Regions from separate parts of the Homo sapiens genome. Here regions 2 and 3 are each linked to region 1. The links are contacts of gene promoters, found by promoter capture Hi-C in blood cells and fetal thymus (Javierre and others, 2016). All regions are on one chromosome and are shown on one strand. The core of a region is centred on a gene start or on the middle of the fragment in contact, and the rest is flanking DNA. Distances in the headings are between cores, read along the strand shown.

Region 1 (4,787 bases), core at 1,094-3,593:
TGGGAATTCCTGATTTATAGCTGGTTGGTCAGAAGTACAAGTGACAACCTGGGATTTGCAATTGGTATCTGAAGTGGGGGCAGTCTTGTAGGACTGAGCCCTTAAGGGTTTGGTGCATAGTATTGAATTAAATTTAACTGTACAACACCCAGTTGGTAGACACTAAATTAAAGAGTGGAGTTTATAATAAGAAATAATTGGAGACTTGTTTGGTGGGGAAAAACCTCCACACATTTGGAGTCAGAAGTGTTGAAACTACAGAAAAATAGCTTTGTGTTTCTTTTCCTTTAACAATGCATCTAGTAAGTGGCCAAGAAAGGATTCAAACCCAGGCAGTCTGACTTCACAGTTTTGTTTTGATATTATGCAGATAGGATCCCCTAAATTCATTAATGGTTGCTGTAGCATGTATTGCAGTACTTGTACAGAAGAAACAACTGGTAGTACTCCATGAACTCCATTCTCTGGTTTAGTGAGCATTACACGATGGCTTGGTTATCTGGGGGAGGTACTGGCCTTCAGAATTAATCCAGGCTCCAATTTTTTTTTCCTTGTCTCCAATATCAGAAGACATTGAGTCCCCTGTCCTTCTGGTTTAAACCACTACTTGTTTGGTTTTCTTTTACTTGTAGCGAATATGTTAACTAATATATCCAATAATGGCTAAGATTGAGTGCAGTACTCTGCCAAACCAGAAGAAGGGAGGCTTACAGCAAATTACATTTGGTTTATAAACATAAATTAAATGTGATATTTCTATTTTATATATTTTATTATTATTTTGTAGAAATGAGGGTCTTGCTATTGCCCAGGCTAATCTCGAACTTCTTACCTCAAGGGATCCTCCCTCATCGGCCCCACAAAGTGTTGGGATTACAGATGTGAGCCACCTCACTTGGCCTAAATGTGACATATCTTATTCTCATGCTAAAGAATAAACTCTGTACCCACCGTGTAATACTATTTTTCTCATAATGTTTATTGTGGAATTAAGGAGATAATATGGTCTCAGGAAAGTTGTGTTGAGTGGTAGTCATCATCATTACTGCTATTCTCATTACGTTGAATGTTTGGAAGCTGTGGGAAATGGGAAAGAGGAGGAAATTGGGAAAATAAATGAAAATAGCCTTACAAATTTCAGGTTCTTCAAGTCTCAAGAGCTCCATTTACCCTATAAGTGCAAAATATTTTCACATAAAACCCAGTCTGTGGATCGTTAGTTATTATTAATCTAATAATATCATAAATTGGTACTACTATTCTATTTTCCATTTGGTTAAATGGGAATTTTGAAAACAGAATTATTTTGGCTTTTCACCACAAATATGCTCAGCAACTGGAATTCTTAAATCTGCAGTTTTTTTGTTTTGTTTTGTTTTGTTTTGTTTTTTGTTTTGAGACAGAGTCTCACTCTAGTCACCCAGGTTGGGGTGCAGTAGCACTATCTGGGCTCACACAACCTCCGCCTCCCGGGTTCAAGCGATTTTCCTGCCTCAGCCTCCCGAGTAGCTGGGATTACAGGCAGGTGCCTGGCTAATTTTTGTACTTTTAGTAGAGATGGGGTTTCGCCATGTTGGCCAGGCTGGTCTTGAACTCCTGACCTCAAGTGATCTGCCCGCCTTGGCCCGCCAAAGTGCTGGGATTACAGGCTTCAGCCACCGTGCCCCGCCTAAATCTGCAGTTCTGATGGAATGTTTTGACTGAAGACTGAACGTAGAAACAGTACCTTGGGTTTTGTTGTTGTTATTTTTTCCTAACCCGGCCCCCTATTAGTTTACTATGTATTAGAACCTGAGAGAGGTGACTACTCTGCCAATAAATTGCCACATTCAATATTCTTCGGTTGCCTAATTCAGTGGGAAACACAGAAAAAAAGGTAAAGAGGACATGAAATCAATAATAAATGCATCATCTATACCGGATTGGAATGCCTCTTAACACTCATTCATCTGAGGGCTGAGGGCCTGTGGTAGAAGTTCTTAATCTTGTTTTCAGGGTTTTGAAATTGTGTAACTTTTTTTTCTTTAATGTAATGAGCATGTGTATACACATTTTTTTTTTTCCAGGGGAAACCCTCCATAATTTTTACCAGATTGACAACCGTTCTAGATCCCCCGACAGGTTACGAACTACAATACTAGTTTTTTTTTTTTTTTTTTACCGGTTTGTAAAAGGATGCAATTCTTCGAATATAGTTTTTGCATCCACTTGACGAGGAAGGAGCCTCTACCCTAAACAAAAATGGCGGGAGCTGCTTCACACGTAGTCCCTCACGCAGAAAGCCTGGAAGGCCCCCTCCACTTTCTCTCCACCTTCGCACTCCTGACCCCGGAAGGACTCCGCCTTCTCCATGTCAGACTGCTGCTCAGCGCCAGGCATCAGCTGGGAAGCTGGCGTGGGCAGGCCAGCTGTACCTGGCCTGGAGCTCCAGGTACAGGGCCAGGGGCGGGGTGGGGTGGAGAGGCGGGCGGGAGGAAGCGGAGAGTTGAGCGGCCACGCAGTTGGGGCAGAGGCCTCGGGGCAGGGGTGGCGCGGACTCCATCGCTGGCGTTAGCTCTCGGAGTGCCAGGTGGAGCGGCGGAAAGCCAGAGGGTCTACGGCCGTGCCACCCTGAACACCCCCGACCTCGTCTCATCTCAGAAGCTAAGCAGGGTCGGGCCTGGTTAGTACTTGCATAGGAAAGCAGGAGGGTCCCCACGCCAGAGGGAGGCCTGCAAAGGAAGCGCGGAATTGGGATGGGCTCGCCACTGCTCTGAGCCAGAGGAAGGGTCTGGACGGCCGAGCTGGAGGGACCCCCTTTTCTGGTGTTCTTGGCAAAGAAAAAGGAAGACAGCAGAGGAGAGCTCCGCGAGGGGCTGCTGTGGGGTCGGGGGAGAGCGCGCTGGAGGTAGGGCAGCTGGTGAGGTCTCAGGTTCGGCTTGGATGCGGGTGGTTTTGAGCAGGGAGTGGCTTTTGGATGTGAAAGATTACTCTGCTTTGCAGGTGCTTTAAGAGAATAATTTAGCACGGGAGTATTGTGGTGTCAGGTCCTTCTGTAAAGTTGTTAAATTATCTATTTTCCAGAGGGAAGACTCAGCTTGTTTTTGCACAGGACTTTGAAACCTTTATTATTGTTGTTTTATTGTTGTTGTTATTGCAGCTAAACATGTTTGCTCTGTTCAAAGTGTCAGAGTTAGGTTATATAGATTTGTGCTTCACGTCAATTTTCTTTTTGATACTTCAGACTTTCCTTCCTGTTGGATTATAAAGTCAAAGTTGCAGGATAGAATTTTAAGATGTCTAAGAAACTGTTTATGACACTTATTTTTAATTCCCCAGTAGTTGGAATGTAGAGGAGCAAGTAATATCACACAGGACAATATTTTTGGTTATGTTTTATAGATTCCGTCTATAAATTTGAATAATCATGAAACCCCCTTCATGTTTATTTTTATTATGCTTCTGAAAGCAAATGAAATGACTAGTTTTTTGTTTTTTTTTCTTTAGTTTTTCAATGAATAATGATTAGGTTTGGAATCAACTTCCTCAGTAATATTAAATGAAAAAGAATGAGGTAGTTAGAATGCAAAAATAGAGGTTTGTCATAATATTTTTTCTTTTTTCTTTTTTTTTTTTTTTTGAGGCGGAGTCTGGCTCTGTCGCCCAGGCTGGAGTGCAATGGCGTGATCTCTGCTCACTGCAACCTCCGCCCCTAGGGTTCTAGAAGTTCTCCTACCTCAGCCTTCCGAGTAGCTGGGATTACAGGCGCCCGACATCACTCCTGGCTAATTTTTTTGTATTTGTAGTAGAGATGGGGTTTCGCTATATTGGCCAGGCTGGTCTTGAACTCTTGACCTCAACTGATCCACCCACCTCGGCCTCCCAAAATGCTGGGATTACAGGCGTGAGCCACCACGCCTGGCCGAGGTTTGTCATAATCTTTTAAGAATATCTCTGCAGCCAATTAAAGTGTTTGCTTTATTTTCTTTCTATTCTGCTTAAAAATTTGGAATGCTCCATTATAGGGAAAATTACTTTGGGTGAATTACTCAATACGTTTTTTAAATGCAGTAGCATAGATTGCTTAATGATCCAGAATCTAATTAGTAAAAATGTTTCTCAAAATAAAATGTGTTAATATTTAGGGAGGGGGAAGAATAAATGAGCTTCCCCCCACTTCCTTTTTACTGTAGTAATATTAAAAAAGTAATACATGTAGGCAGGTTTTTAAAAATCAAGTATTACAAACAGACTTATAAGGAAAAGCAGTCATTCTTTGCCCAGCTTTTCTATATCCCTTGTCTTATTCTCCAGAGGACCATTTTTCACTTTCTTAACTGTTCATGGTTTCCTCTGTACTTTTTAATCATATGTCTCTATCACAGGTTGTTGACTGAAATAAATGTATGTCAAGTAGAACTAACTATACTGAATCTAAAAGTTGTACTTAGAACACTGGTAGGGGGGATTAAGTTTATACTGCTGTATCCCTAGTAAGGATTAAGGGAAGCATCAGTAGTAGTAACCCACCCTAAGAGGTATTGCTGTGTTTGATTTTAAAGGAAACCACTACTTAATCAGTGGTTTTGACACTTGTCTGAAAACAGGTGGGTATTAACAGAAGGGGATAGTCTATTGGAGTATAGAAAAAGAGAACATAGAAATGTATGCAGAAATGAAGGGCCTAAAAAAGTGTAGCAAATAATTTTTTTTTTTTTTGGTGTAGGCAGGGTTTCACCATGTTTCCCAGGCTGGTCTCGAACTCCTGGGTTCATGGACTCAAGCAATCCACCCATCTCGGCCTCCCA
Region 2 (4,787 bases), core at 1,524-4,023, about 22 Mb after region 1:
GAAGATATGGGTCCTACATTTTGGGTCTTTCCAGTATTGTCAACAGTGTAGGAGTTTTCGATGGGAAATAGCCATAGTCATCAAAAATCCATTTATTTAGTTTTAAAATATACTAAAATATTTTCATTGTAATGTGGAGTACATCTGCCTCTTAAGTTTGTGTATATTAATAATTGTATCCTCAGTGCTTTGCACATGAAAGGCATTCAGTAAATGTTTGTTAAATAAATGAATAAATACAGTAAGGCTACTCAGTGAGGCCTGCTTTCCAGATTCTGTTCTGACGCCCTCTTTTCAACTCTTCAGTTCATCACTATTTGCTATGAGCCTCTTCAAGACAAGCATCTTGACCTAGCATCAACCTAAACAGATTTGTCTGCCCTTCCTCCCTCCCTTCCTTCCTTCCTTCATTTTTCCTTTCTTAAACTAGAATGTAAGTGTAGGTGAATAAAGTTTTCCCATACAAGTCATTTCCTCAGCTAAGGTAGGAAAAGTGAGAGACAATTCAGGTAGTTGGGTAAAAGTTCTTCAAATTGTAGATCTTAAGCTTCAGATAGCTTTATTGGGAAGTAGGCTTTATGCAGAATAAATCATTAAAGAAATTGAGAAGATAGAAGAGCAAATTTGAATGAAGTTGATAATTCATGATAGTATTATTACAAATATAAAGCTGAGTAGGTTTTTGCTGTTTTTATTGTTGAGTTTTTAAAAACAGTACTGCTTAATAAATGTAAAAAGTATTTATTTTTAAAGATGATGTGGTTTGGGGGGGCCACATAATTGTGTTTGCAGATCTTGCATTACGATGTTTGGTTGAAACCTATGCTGCCAGTTTTGAGGAAAGGAATGAAGAACCTTTAGCCAAACGCATAAAGAATGATAAAACAGAAAAAGAAATTTACACTTTGGCCAAGGAAGGAAATGAAAAAAATGTCCCAGAGAAGTGGAACCCTGTGGCTGGCATTGTTATTGCACTCTGTTGTCACCACAGGTGTGATTGGAGACATTATGTGGGCAAAGAATATTTCAGGGCTCTAGGCCTTGGAGCAGTGGAATTCCATTATTTCCAGCGAATGAGTAGTTGGGCAACTTGTGGGATGCGGAAAACATCTTTGGAAACCTCAAATAGTACCACAAAGAGGCAAGATAATCAGAATGATGATAGTGAAGAGCATGATGATGGAGGATACAGAATCACAGATGATGGCGCTGATTGTTTGCCTGGGTAAGAGACTACTTTTGTAATGCATGATACTAAAGGAGAAATATTATATTGTACTGTACTTTAGATGACTATTATCAACAATTCATGAAAATGTATTTTATAATCTAATTTTAGAATAAGCTAAAATATACACATCTTTTATTGTGGTCATAAATATAATGTGTCTTGGAAGCATGGGACAAAGTACTTAGTACATTATGGGTTAGTTAACAGTCTCTCAATAAATAGTGACAAAAATAATTTTTTATAAACTTTTGCAAAATTTTAACAATGTTTTGTGTGTGTTTATTCAATTTAGGCTTCTTAGTGTTGAAGAAAAGAAGAAAATAGGGCATCTTTGTAAATTGCTGATTGACCAAGGTCGAATCCAGTATTTGCAGCAGAAGGGATTCAGTCCTGCTTTGCAGTACTATACAGACCCTCTGGTGTCTTTGGAAAATGTTTTGTTAACTGCTTTACCAAATCATTCTTCATCACCAGAAACAACTGCTTAATGGAAAAGAAATTTGAGCATCATCTGTCTTCCACCAAAAAAAATTTTTTAATTATATTTTTATATCAAAAAAATATATACTTTAAATAGCAAATAATATGAACTTTAAAAAATGCTGTGGCCTCATTAAACTTTGGTAATAGCTTTTCTTTTTACTTCAGAAATCCAAACATTAGAGAATTCACCAAAGTAATCCTCTTTAGAAGGGCATCTTGAATTATATTATCCATCCGTATTTATGGAGATTGGTAAAGTAGTTGAACCGTTGACTTGGTGATCTGAAACATACATAACATGTCAACACATAATTAGCGTATTTCTGTTTGTATTAATTTTGGAAATTTATCTTCCTTTGATTTTATTTAATATTTTTTATTTCTTAAGTTCAAGAGGTAGTGATTGATTGTAACAAGGGCCAATCTGAGAATTTGACTTATATGTGGACATTTTTCCCTACAGATCTGGAAAGCACAATTGTGATTTTCTCAAATGCAGACAATTCAGAGATATTCACAATTAATAAACACAATTAATTAATGAAGTCACCTTCAAATTTCCAGAGCCATACATGTATATATTGTCAGAATCTGTCCATGACAAACACAAAACTGAAGAGCTGTTTTCAAAGAAAAAAGATTATTTCACTTAATTATTTTGTTGGATAATTGTCTAGTTAGAACTTCCAAAAAGATACTTACAAACATAATTCACAAATTTGAAATAATTTCTGAAGTTGATTAGCTATCTCATATCTTTTATCAGGTCATTTTTTATATATGTAGGCACAAACAATAAGTATGTTCTCTTCTGTTTGGGAAAATAATTTGGAATAAAATAGAAATTAGATAATGAAACCAAAAACCTTCTCAAATTTAGGCCTTATTTAACTCATGACTGGTTTCTATGCACAAGAAAATACTAAACCAAATATATGGTAGGACTGTTATTCTCTTCTGCATCTTATCCCTATTTTGTTTCTGCCTTTATTTGTAAAAATTGTCTTAATTGATGGTACATTTGCCAAGACAAAGGTTCAGAATTACTAATTTTAGATATTATGATATTCTGAAATAACTATTTTTATCCTGTAGTTCTATGATTATATGATTTGTAAATAAGAAGCCTAACCAATTTAAAATTCCTGACTTTAGTCTCATATATCTTGTCAGACTGTCTCGGTTCAAATTCCAAACCTACCATCTTCAGTTGTGCGACCTTGGGCATGCTACCTAATCTCTTTGTGCCTCAATTTCCTCCTTTTAAAATGGGGATGATGATGATAACAATAATACCTACCTCACAAGGTTGTTGTGAGCATCAAATGAGATAACACAAGTAAAATGCATAGAACAGTTCCAAGCACAGAGTAATTCAATAAATATTAACTAGTAATAGTAGTGGTAGTAACTCGTGAATCTTTTTAATAACATAATAGGCTTTGATTTTATTATCTCTTTAAGTTGTTAACTTTTTTCCCTTGTTATAAGTTTTATGTCAAGTAAGGTAGTTTGTTTAAGTTAGTTACCCATGTCCCCAATCAAGGGAACCTAAATGAAGATATATCATTAAATAATTAACCTTTTTTTATTGTGTCAAGCAATACTAATTTGTGTCATAAAATTTGTTTTGCATCATTCAACAATTTATGCCCAGAAATAAACAATATTCTACAACAGGCATAATCTCATTTATGTTTGATAAAATATACATACACACCCAAGAATTATCATACAGAAACAGTTCTGTGGCCCATTTAGCTTAATGGTATGTTTCTGACAATGGTATCAAGTACCTTAAAGGAAGATAAGTTTGTCCTTCAACATGCCAGCCTTAGGTCAGGATTATTGTTTTCCTAACTGTTAATTTGTCTTCACATATCATGAGAAAGTGACTGTGGGATATGCATACAGCTATTTCTTGTCCTGCAGAATTTTCAGATTCAACAAACCTCTTCTTGAACTTCAGATTCACCTGCACAATTACCACAACTTGCATGTTCCACAGGTGCATCAAATTTACTGCTAAGGGCCAGGTGTGGTGGCTTACACCTGTAATCCCAGCACTTTGGGAGGCCAAGGCAGGTGAATCACCTGAGGTCAGGAGTTCGAGACCAGCCTGACCAATATGGTGAAACCCTGTCTCTACTAAAAATACGAAATTAGTGGGGCGTGGCGTGGTGGTGCATGCCTGTAAGCTACTCAGGAGGCTGAGGCAGGAGAATCACTTGAACCTGGGAGGCGAAATTTGCCAAGTGAGCCGAGATTGCACCATTGCACTCTAGCCTGGGCAACCAGAGAGAAACTCCTCAAAAAAAAAAAAAAAAAAAAAAAAGACTGCCAAAATTAGAAATCATCTTCTGCCTCTACCACCTGATTCTATTCGCCAACCCATCTTCTGTACTTCATTCTCCATCTTAGCACCACCATCTATCCAGTTGCCCTCTAAACCAAAAACATTCATTGTAAACTCCCTTTTCTCATCTTCATTCAATTACCAATTCTGTCTCCTAATTGTCTTTATATATTCTCTGCTTTCCAAAACTAGGTCACAATTATGACTTTTTTGCCTGTCTTCCCCCAATCTGTCTCCATGTCATTGCTTCTATGACCTTGCTGCAATAAATCTAATCACCATTTCCTAAACATCCTCCACTGAATGTTAGTAAAAATTATTTCCTTTAGCTGAAAAACTCTGTCATTGTCTTCTCAGTTATATTCATTTTTCAAACTAGTTGTTGCATTAAGTTGAACTAAAATCTACCTTTTAAGTTAAAAATTCTTAACATTTTAAAATTATAAGACTATGATTTCTGTTACTATTGTTTCATTGTTTTTATTAACAAATAATTGTGCACTTTGTCCTCTTCCCCTGATCTTGGTTTAGCTTAAAGGCCCTCAATTAATTATCAGAGACTAAGTGATTGAAATCTCTATATCAAAACCTCACACTTTGTTCATTAAAATCTGTGTTCTCAGCCAGACGTGGTGGCATGCACTGATAGCCCCAGTTACTTCAGAGGCTGAGGTCGGATGATCTCTTGAGCCCAGGAGTTCAAGGCTACAGTGAGCT
Region 3 (4,787 bases), core at 1,620-4,119, about 22 Mb after region 1:
TGAAACAGATTAGAGTGTTACTCCAATTCCATTTAAGCTTTCCTGAGCTGGGCACAGTGCCTCCCACCTGTAGTGCTGGCTACTTCAGAGGCTGAGGCAGGAGGATAGCTTGAGCCCAGGGGTTCAAGTCCAGTCTGGGCAACACAGCAAGATTAAGCTTTCGTGGTGGGGTGGGGGAGGGGGGGACTCAGTTTCCGAACTTGTAAGATAAGTGGATTCAACTAGAAGGTTTGTGAAAACCTTTTTAGCTCTACATCATTATGTTTGGTTTTCATCTTCTGAAGTTTTCTCTAGTATAAATGCCATAGTGGTATGATACTGCAGTTGGTATTTAACTTTTTATGGTGCTTTACAGTTTATTTTTATTTTAATTATTTATTTATTTATTTATTTTTGAGACAGAGTTTCGCTCTGTCACCCAGTCTGGAGTGCAATGGTGCGATCTTGGCTCACTGCAACCTCCGCCTCCCAGGTTCAAACGATTCTCCTGCCTCAGTCTCCTGAGTAGCTGAGTTTACAGGGGCACAACACCACACCTGGCTAATTTTCGTATTTTTAGTAGAGATGGGGTTTCACCATGTTGGCCAGACTGGTCTCAAACTCCTGACCTCAAGTGATCTGCCCACCTCAGCCTCCCAAAGTGATAGCAGTACAGGCGTGGGCCACTGCACCTAGACGGTGTTTTACGGTTTTAAAAGTCCTGTCATACTTCATATATTTGCAAAAAGTACAAGAAGAATTCACTTATCAAAGTGTTCTTTACATAATCCTGGAAGAGTTATATTACTATGACAATTTACCAATCATATTAATGATATTGTTGCATATATTCCAAATGCCTATATACATTAGATGTTGAAAGAAAAAACGGAAGGCCTGTAAGTTAAACGAATTCCCCATGCTTAGTTAAAAAACATCCCTAGAAATATGCTGTAGAAAAATACAAGCTTTCAGAGGATACGCTAACTAAAATCACAAATCTTATTTTTTCCCTTATAATGGTTAATGTCATAAGAGCAATATAAAACAATAAAAACTCAATAAAATGTTATTTCTCATCTCAATAGATGTCGTACTCAATAGATGTCTAATACTAATGACATTAGATTTAGTTATGAGTTCTTCTAAATAAAAAGTATTCTAAACATCAGGCTTGCTTTAGCACAACTGGATTCTAGGCCATCTCTGACACCCAGTAGCTGTGCTCTTAAACTATCAATCAAACAAATAAAAGGTACTTTAAGCCAGGTATTGTGCCAGGTGCTAGGGATACAAACAGAAATAAACATGGTCCAGGGGCTTGGCACAGTGGCTCACATCTGTAATCCCAGCACTTTGGGAGGCTGAGGTGGGTGGATCACCTGAGGCCAAGAGTTCAAGACCAGCATGGGCAACATAGCAAAATCCTATCTCTACAAAAAATTTATAAAATGAGCCAGGCATGGTGGTGCATGCCTGTAGTTTCATGTACTCTGGAAGCTGAAGCAGGAGAGCTTAAGACCAAGAGTTTGAGATTACAGTAAGCCATGATTATGACACAACACTCTAGCCTGGGCAACAGAGTGACAGCCTCTCTCTAAAAAAAAAAAAATAATAATTTTTGAACATAGGATGACACAAACAAAACAAAACAAAAAAAACCATGGTCTCTGTCCTCAAATTGAGATGAGATTAATGACTTTTTGCTAGATTTGCTTCTGATTGCATTTTAGGGCTCCATGAGAGGGGAGGGAAGGGTTACCAACACTACTGAGTACCTGCCAGGTATTCTACATATATCATCTTATTTAACAATAATCTTGATAAGTAAATATTATTTATTTTACAAAAGAAGAACTTAAGGCCCAAATAATGGTTTAAGGTCACATTACAGAGCCCAAATGAAAACTCAGATCTTTCACCTACACCACACTATCTAATAACTGAATAATGGCAATTCATTTCAACTTAGGCAACTTTGAAGGGTCCTTATAGTGAAAGGATTTAAGACATACCTGAAAGTTATGAAAGAAAAAAGCATTTGAGGCACAAGGAACAGCAGGGGTAATAGTATAGAATGAGTATCAGGTATATTCAGAAGGTAACAAGAATGCTTGTATGACTTTCATATTGGAGAGATAAGCTTAGGAAACAAAACTGAAAAGGCAGATTAGTGTCAAATCATGGGTTCCAAAATTTTGCATAATTTTCCACCAGATGAAGTTCCCTGATCATTACCACTGTCCTCAACTGAATTTCCTTCTTCTCTGACTTTAGTGTACTTATATTACTTTATGCATTTGTCACACATTAATACCTAAAATTTAGTGAACATTTATTATGCTCTAGTCACTGTTGTAAGCAGTTCATATGTATAATTCATTCCATTCTCATAATACCATGAAGTAGGTACTGTTATTACCATCAACTTAAAGATGAGACACAGAGAAGGAAATTGTACAAGATCTGTCAGTAAGTGGAAGAACTGGGACTTAAACCCAGGCAATCTGGCTCCAGAGCCTGAACTCCTAATCTGTGCTATGGTGCCTGTTCAAGGAAAATCTTATTTCCCCTATTAAAATGTGAGTTCCTTGAGGGACAGAATGAAAAGAGGTTTTTGTTGGCTTTTGTTGTTGTTGGGGACGGAGAGGGGGGTGCGTATTTACATCCTCCACACTTAGGACAGTTCCTGAGACACAGCAGACATTTGCCAGTATTTGTTGAGCTGAACTGGCCTCAAATACTCAACCAAGGCGTCTGGGCTGGGCGTGGTGGCTCACGCCTATAATCCCCGAATTTTGGGAGGCTGGGGTGAGAGGATCACTTGAGCCCAGGTGTTCAAGACCAGCCTGGGCAATACAGGGAGACCCCGTCTCTTTTAAATTAAATTAACAACAAAAAAAAGCCAGGCGTGGTGGTATGCGCCTGTAATTGCAGCTACTCAGGAGGCTAAGGTGAGGGGAACCCTTGGGCCCAGGAGGTCAAGGCTGCAGTGAGCTGTAATCGTGCTACAATACTCCAGTCTGGGCAACAGAGCGAGACTCTGTCTAGAAAAAAAAAAAAAAAGAGAGAGAGAAAGAGAGAGAGTCTGGGTTGTTCTTCCTATAGGTCAAGGATCACCAAATTATTCTGTAAAGGGCCAGATAGCAAATATTTTAGGCTTTGCGGGCCATAAGGTCTCTGTCACAATTACTCATCTCTGCCCTTCCTGTGCAAAAGCAGCTACAATATGTAAACAAATGAGCATGGCTGTATTCCAAGAAAAGTTTATTTACGAAAACAGTGAGCCAACTGGCCCATGTGCTCCAGTTTGCTGACCCCTATTATACAGATAATAGGAATATATTAAAGGTTTCTAAGCAGAGAAATTGAGTTTTTAGATTAACTGTGATGGCAATGTAACCAGAAAGAGACCATCTAGGAGTTTCCATATTGAAACCAAAGTCATGGCCTCCTTTATCTTTCTATAATCATTCTAAAACAGTGTTGTCCAATGGAGATACAATGTAAGCCACAAATGTGAGCCAGGTATGTAATTTTAATTTTTTTCTTTTTCTTTTTTTTTTTTCAGAGACAGGATCTCGCTCTATCACCCAGGCTGGAGTACAGTGGCACAAATAGTAGCTCACTGTAACCTCAAGCTTAGGCTCAAGCAATCCTCCTGTCTTGGCCTCCTAAAGTGCTGGGACTACGGGTGTGAGCCACCATACCTAGCCTACTTTTAAATTTTCTAGAAGTCACATTTTAAAAAGACTTTTAAAAGCAGGTGAAATTAATTTTAATAATACATTGTATTTAACCCAATATACCCAAAAATATTGCCATTTAACACATAATATAAAAATTGACATATTTTACATTCTTTTTTCATAGTAAGTCTTAAAAATCCAACGTGCATTTTCATATGTAAAGCACAACAATTCAGATAAGCCCCATTTCAAATGTCTAATAACCACATGTGGCTAGTGGCTACCATACTGGACAGCATTAAAAGAATGATCAACTAAACCTACAGATCTCCATATGCAGCTGCTGGTTTTGGGACCATCTCCTTGACCGGCTTGCCATTGATTTTTGACCGAATTCTGAACTATATATACTACAGTTTGACATTACTGGCAACTCAATAAGGCAATGTCTTCATTTTTTATGTTACATTTGTACACCACTTAGTTTTCACATACGATTTCACACCTGATCCTCATTACAAACACGTGAATACGCAAAAGATTTCACACCTGATCCTCATTACAAACACGTGAATACGCATGTTATATCAGTTTTACAAATGAGGAAAGAACGTTCAGAGAAAAAAAGAGACAACCATTGAGTGTTAGAACTGAGAAAAAAAAAGTAAGTCTCCTGACCTCTGGTCAAATCTATTTACGCCCCAATAATACCACCTCCTTAATCAAAGTTGCACTTCTCTGTGCGACTGGTCTTTATTTCCTCCAGTGATTGTAAACTCCATGAAGAAAAGGACTGTTTTTCCTGACCACTGTATTCCCAGTGCCCAGTAAGGTGTTTTACAAGGAGGCAATATTTATTGAATGAATTAATGACGTTTCTGCTTTTCTCATTTTTAGTCGGTTAAATGTAATTTACTTTTTTAAAGCAACTGATGTGAAGAGCCAAAGTACGCCACCAAATTGGTAGGTTTTTAAAAGTTGAACTTTACTGCCAACATACTTCAAAAGAGAACGAGGGGGAAAGGCTCGGAGCCAAGGCCTGAGTTCTAGTCCTGACCCTGCCATGAACTGGCTGTGAGCCCTCACGTAAATTTTTTTAACTTCTCTGGGCCAGAGTTC

What was found. The method cuts DNA at HindIII sites, captures the fragments that hold promoters and counts their contacts. A CHiCAGO score of 5 or more calls a contact.
Region 2: a contact is called between a fragment that was not itself captured here and the fragment with the promoter of MIGA1 in region 1, in 1 of 17 cell types (total CD4 T cells). The highest score is 5.0, in total CD4 T cells.
Region 3: a fragment that was not itself captured here is called in contact with the fragment with the promoter of MIGA1 in region 1 in 6 of 17 cell types (naive CD4 T cells, non-activated CD4 T cells, total B cells and 3 more); the score reaches 11.5 in naive CD4 T cells.

What each region holds. Positions count from the first base shown.
Region 1 is chr1:77,777,306-77,782,092 of GRCh38, forward strand. MIGA1 (mitoguardin 1) reads left to right here and starts at 2,344. Exons shown (of 16, transcript NM_001416120.1): 1 at 2,344-2,431. It also overlaps the pseudogene RNA5SP21. RefSeq lists an enhancer at 2,231-2,320. The HindIII fragment of the contact is 6,952 bases long and covers 1-4,787 here.
Region 2 is chr1:100,147,102-100,151,888 of GRCh38, forward strand. It overlaps TRMT13 (tRNA methyltransferase 13), which reads left to right. Exons shown (of 11, transcript NM_019083.3): 10 at 793-1,225; 11 at 1,524-3,395. The coding sequence ends at 1,719. LRRC39 (leucine rich repeat containing 39) reads right to left here. Exons shown (of 10, transcript NM_144620.4): 10 at 1,347-1,996. The coding sequence ends at 1,941. Among named protein-coding and RNA genes, the nearest start is that of TRMT13, 16 kb to the left of the region's middle. The HindIII fragment of the contact is 4,457 bases long and covers 546-4,787 here.
Region 3 is chr1:100,127,660-100,132,446 of GRCh38, forward strand. The region is part of intron 1 of SASS6 (SAS-6 centriolar assembly protein); the gene reads right to left. Among named protein-coding and RNA genes, the nearest start is that of SASS6, 2.9 kb to the right of the region's middle. RefSeq lists an enhancer at 3,229-3,278. The HindIII fragment of the contact is 1,498 bases long and covers 2,121-3,618 here.